Linked DNA regions of Homo sapiens: region 1 is linked to region 2. The links are contacts of gene promoters, found by promoter capture Hi-C in blood cells and fetal thymus (Javierre and others, 2016). All regions are on one chromosome and are shown on one strand. Each heading gives the region's core, a stretch centred on a gene start or on the middle of the fragment in contact. The rest is flanking DNA. Distances are from core to core; before and after follow the strand shown.

Region 1 (2,700 bases), core at 130-2,629, 4.2 Mb before region 2:
ACCCTGTCTGACAAGAACCCTTAAGAATTCGCCTTTTTCTAATGCTCAAACATTCTGCAGCCGCTTGATCTGGCGAAAAATCGTCAAAGCTCCTGGTTTTATCATTTGCTGCAGGGAAAAAAAGAATATGGCTGAAAATTCTTTCAGAAGGGTGGTATTTCAAACAGGACCACCCAAAACACTTAAGAATACGCAGCGGAGAGTAGGGTGCAGGGAGGGTACCTTACGAAACAGCGCACTTCGGGCCCTGCACGCTACCTCATTTCCCTAATAGGGATGAAAAGCTCAGGCCTCTGGTAGCTTCCAGCTGACGCCAGTGCTCTCTCCACACCCCTTTTTTGACAGGATTATCCGGGGTTGAACGCTGTGTCACAAATACGAATTCCCGCGACCACGTCTAAGTGGTCTAACAATCAATCAAGCATCTTTTACAAAACCAAACCCTTCCCCCATCCCGTTCCCTCCATCTCTCTCCCTAGCCAAACAAACCTAGGAGAGTCCTCAAGATGGATTTTCACAAATCCTGCAGCGCACTAACTGGGAGGAAGAAACGATACAGAAAATAAGAGTGTCGGCCATCCCCCTCTCTGCAACCGAAATTACAGGCTCCATTTCCTGTCCCCTTGGGAACTGCAAAATCCTCTGCTGAAAACCGGACGCCTCCCAGCCCCTCCAGGCCGGCGCACGCGGCCGCCGCGCTCCCCCTTCCCGGGCCCCGTGGGCGCCAGGGGGCGGCGGGGACCCACGGCGCCCTCCCCTCCCCCTCCCCGCACGGCACCCACCTCGGGGCAGCGGCTTCACCTCCCCGTTCTCCTCCCGGGAGGCCCCGCCGGCCTCTCGGGCCCCACCGAGACCGTGCCTCCTCCTCTCCTTCTCCCGCTTCTCCTTAGGTCTGCGCGACTTGGCGTTAGCCGAGGCAGCGGCGGCGGCGGCGGGCAGGAGGAGATGGTGAGGCTGAGCGTGCAGCAGCGTAGGAGGGACCAGCAGTTTGCGCGGCACCGGCTGAGACAAGGAAGCGGAGGCTGAGGAGGGAACGGCCGTGCCAGCGGAGAAAGAGAAACTGCTCCGAGAAGAGGACGGGGAGGGAGCAGCAGACAGAGGGGCAAAGCTCCAAGACGCGGGGCTGCCATAGCTCTGAGGCGAAGGTGCTGCCGGCGGCTGCAGCTGCCTGCTGTTCCCGCCGCTGCCCCCTTCTCCGTTCACTCTCCGCGGTGCCTTCTTCTCCTCAGTCCGGACCTTCTTGGCGGACAGAGAACCCGGAGGGTCCCGGGAGGAGAGTTGCAGCTTGCCAAACGGTTCTTTCTCCGAGACGGTGGCGGTGGGGGCCGCGGCAGCGACACAGTGCACGGGGCTCGGCGGTTCCGCCATTTTGCGCTCCTGTTGTATTTACTCTCCTCCGCTAGCCGGCGCGGGGCAGGGGGCGGGCCCTCCGCGAGGGGTAGGGAAGGGGCGGAGCGGCCAGGCCACCAGCCGGCATTGCTCCATTGGGCAAGCCACGCTGAGGGATCCACCTAAGAGCCAATCAAAGGCACAAACATCAGACGAAGGGGCGGGATCGCCACAGGGACCCTCTTCGGAGGTCAGAGCTCGGCGGGGTGCGGCTAGTGGCGGAGCGCGCTGCGAGGGGAGGGCTTTCCACTGTCGCTGGCGTGAACTCGCGTGCCCGGTGGGTATCAGGGAAGAACCCCCGCCCCGGACCCCCAGATCTGCCATGGCCGAGGTAGCGATCGTCTCTGCGGCCACGAAGACTGTTTTAACTTGTACCACTTTCCCTTCCATTTTTCCTGGGGTGCCTCTCACCCTGCATCTGCGCGTTCAGCAAGCTGGATTTCGGGAATGCTCAGTTCAGAAGAGAAAAAATTGCCGGGAATCAAGTCCTTCTTTTTGTTAGTCGGTAGTCGATTGATGGGAAGTGTTCAAAATCATTCGATGTGGTGACAAGGTACGTTATTATTGCTAGATCATGTGCTGTAATCCATTGAAGGAGATAACTTCCAGCAAATCTAGAACTTTAGTATTACTTACAAGCTTGAAGGTGAGAGTCTCCCTTTGGAGACTTTTGAACTGTTGTGACTAGACCCTTAAGATTTTTATTTTATTTATTTATTTATTTATTGGGACGGAGTTTTGCTCTGTTGTCGAGGCTGGAGTGCCGTGGCGCGATCTCGGCTCACCGCAACCTCCGCCTCCCAGATTCAAGCGATTCTCCTGCCTCAGCCTCCCCAGTAACAGGGACTACAGGCGTCCGGCACCATGCTTGGCTAATTTTTGTGTTTATTAGAGACGGGGTTTCACCATGTTGGCCAGGCTGGACTCGAACTCCTGATCTCAGGTGAGCGGCCCACCTCCGCTTCCCAAAGTGCTGGGATTACAGGCGTGAGCCACCATGTGCGGCCTTAAGATTTGAATTTTATAATAATTATTATAGCCGGGCGCGGTGGCTCACACCTGTAATCCCAGCACTTTGGGAGACCGGGGCGGGCGGATCACGAGGTCAGAAGTTCGAGACCAGCCTGACCAACATGGTGAAACCCCGTCTCTACTAAAAATGCAAAAATTAGCTGGGCATGGAAGCGCGCACCTGTAATCCCAGCTACTGGGGAGGCTGGGGCAGGAGAATCGCTTGAACCCAGGAGGCGGAGGTTGCAGTGAGCCGAGACTGCGCCACTGCACTCCAGCTTGGGCGACAGGGCAAGACTC
Region 2 (2,700 bases), core at 115-2,614:
TTCAAATAGTATTCACTAGCACCTACAATGTTCCGAGCCAGGTGCTGAGTATCATGGGAGAAAAAAAAAAAAAGCCAGAGTCACAGCTCTGGCAGGGCGTGGTGGCTCACGCCTGTAATCCCAACACTTTGGGAGGCCGAGGCGGGTGGATCACCTGAGATCAGGAGTCCGAGACCAGCCTGACCAACATGGTGAAACCCCGTCTCTACAAAATACAAAAAATAGCCGGGTGTGGTGGCGCGCACCTGTAGTCCCAGCTACTCGGGAGGCCGAGGCAAGAGAATAGCTTGAACCCGGGAGGGAGAGGTTGCAGTGAGCCGAGACTGCACCACTGCACTCCAGCCTGGGCAACAAGAGTGAAACTCCGTCTCAAAAAAAAAAATAATGATAATTTTGGGAGGCCTAGGCGGTCGGATCACCTGAAGTCGGGAGTTTGAGACCAGCCTGACCAACATGGAGAAGCCCCGTCTCTACTAATAATACAAAATTGGCCGGGCGTGGTGGTGCACGCCAGTAATTCCAGCTACTTGGGAGGCTGAGGCAGGAGAATCTCTTGAACCCGGGAGGCGGAGGTTGCGGTGAGCCGATATCGCGCCATTGCCCTCCAGCCTGGGCGACAGAGCGAGACTCCGTCTCAAAAAAAACAAAAACCAAAAACCAAAAAACTAAGTACGTCTTTTAATCTATTTCTCCAAAGAAGCTTCTATATTCTACTTTCCAGCCAGCCCCTAGAAACAAGCAGTATACTTCTACCCAGATCTCAACCACACTCCCGCCCAGAAGTTAACTCTGGGGTGAGCAAAGCTGGCCCCCACGTTGTCCTTCCGCAGAACCTTTGGTAGGGTAAGCTCCCGGGGCCACTTCCCGCCAACCCCTCCCTGCAGCCCAGCCCCACCCGCGCATCCCCGGGCGTGGCCGAGCACGGCGCCTTTAAGAAGGGGGAGGCGCCCAAGAGGAAAGACAAAGCCCCTGGCCGCGCGCTCACCCTCCCCCTCCGGCGCACCACACGGACAGTGGTGCCCGGATGTCGGTGTCGCCGTCGGTGACAGATGGCGCAGTATCTGTATATGCGAGGGGCTTCTCCGGCTTGACCTCTTTGAGTTCTCGTCCTCTCCATCCCCCGCTGTCCCCCACTTTTAACTCTGCCGTCGGAGGCCCGCACGCCTATCACGGGCGCTTACATAACGTGACCTTTCACCTCTTCAGACTGCCCTCTAGTGCGCTGCAACCCAACTACGCGACAGGGGCAGGGGGGCGGGACCCAGGCGCGGAGCGGCAGCTCCTCCGAGCCAATAGGCTGTGAGCGCTGACCAGCTCTCCGCCTATTGGAGCATTCGCCACCGGCGCCACGGGGGAGCAAGTTAGTGTGTGCGTTGGCCGGGCCCGGGGGAGGAGGGGAATCTCCCGCCATTTTTCAATAATTTCCTCCGGTGCTGCTGAGGAGGAGTCGTGACTGCCGGCCGCCGGGACCCGAAGCGGAGGTCGGCGGGGGGCTGCTGGGAGGCGCGGCGGTGTGCGCGGGAGCTCTGCGCCGTGGCGTTCCGCTCCATGACTGTCGCGCGGCCGCGCCGGCGGTGAGGGAGCCGGAGTTCGCGCCGCCCTCTCACCCCTCCCTTCCCCCACCCCACCCCCGGGCGCCTGGCGCTCGCTCCGGGCCGCGGGGCCTAGTGCTGCGCCGCGGGGCCGGCCCCAGCAGCCGCCAGTCCCCACCGCCGCCGCCGCGATGGCGCCGCTCCTGGGCCGCAAGCCCTTCCCGCTGGTGAAGCCGTTGCCCGGAGAGGAGCCGCTCTTCACCATCCCGCACACTCAGGAGGCCTTCCGCACCCGGGAGTATCCTTTTCCAGCCGCGCGGGCCGGGCTGGGCCGGGCTGGGCCGGGGTAGGGCCTGGGGCTCGCGAGACCAGGTCAGCCGCGCATCCCCGGCCCGGGGCAGCTGTCAGCGCGCCCCGGCCGCTCGCGGGCCTGGAGGCTGAGTCTCAGCCTGCGCCCGCCGATCCTTCCAGGGGATCCGGCGGGGGGCGCGCACCGGCCCTGGAAGGAGAAGGGCCCGCTTCGGCCGCCCCCGGGGCCCCGCACTTTGTCCCGGGGCCTCGCCGGCGAGGAGCGCATCCCCCATCCCCATTACCTTCCCCGGGTTGGCTTTAGGCCTTGAGGACCCGAGAGGGAGGAGGAGGCGTGGGGAGGGGGAGCTAGGTTTTCTCCTTTAATTTTTACAAAAATTTTTTAAAAATTTAAATGAAACCTGCAGCTTAAGTTTTGAAATTGTACTCGCGCGGCCTCGTGATGCGGCGTGTGCAAGACTCAACTGCGTCTTACCCCGATCTCTGCGGGGATACTTGGCGTTTTTTTCGTCTCCCGAGGGGACTTTAGGCCGGGGATGAACTGACAGGACCCTGGGGCAGAAAACTAGGAATGAGATTCCCCGCTTAGAGGAAAGGGAGGGAAGGAAACTGCCTGTGGAGGAGCTGATGCCTGCCTTCCCTGGGCAGACACAGGTTTGAAATTTTGAAGGTTTAGAAGGAGATTGGTATTTGTTAAAATTAAACAAACAAAAAAACCAAGACGTGAAGTTTTTATGTTGTATTTTAGGAACATGAAATTGGATGTTTTACAAAGGAAGCATCCTCTCGTCATGACTAAGATTTCTTGCATAAGCATTATCTTTTAGTGAAAAGTTGTGCAGCTTTTATTTGCTTTTTT

What was found. The method cuts DNA at HindIII sites, captures the fragments that hold promoters and counts their contacts. A CHiCAGO score of 5 or more calls a contact.
Region 1: a contact is called between the fragment with the promoter of RSBN1L here and the fragment with the promoter of BAZ1B in region 2, in 1 of 17 cell types (non-activated CD4 T cells). The highest score is 8.4, in non-activated CD4 T cells.

The regions. Positions count from the first base shown.
Region 1 is chr7:77,695,138-77,697,837 of GRCh38, reverse strand. RSBN1L (round spermatid basic protein 1 like) reads right to left here and starts at 1,379. Exons shown (of 8, transcript NM_198467.3): 1 at 783-1,379. The coding sequence starts at 1,368. It overlaps APTR (Alu-mediated CDKN1A/p21 transcriptional regulator), which reads left to right and starts at 1,573. Exons shown (of 2, transcript NR_134254.1): 1 at 1,573-1,942. RefSeq lists silencers at 159-258, 549-868, 1,339-1,558 and enhancers at 1,079-1,308, 493-1,388, 1,389-2,284. The HindIII fragment of the contact is 2,163 bases long and covers 1-2,030 here.
Region 2 is chr7:73,520,957-73,523,656 of GRCh38, reverse strand. It overlaps BAZ1B (bromodomain adjacent to zinc finger domain 1B), which reads left to right and starts at 1,364. Exons shown (of 20, transcript NM_032408.4): 1 at 1,364-1,830. The coding sequence starts at 1,724. RefSeq lists silencers at 751-890, 1,241-2,120 and an enhancer at 1,021-1,180. The HindIII fragment of the contact is 2,091 bases long and covers 703-2,700 here.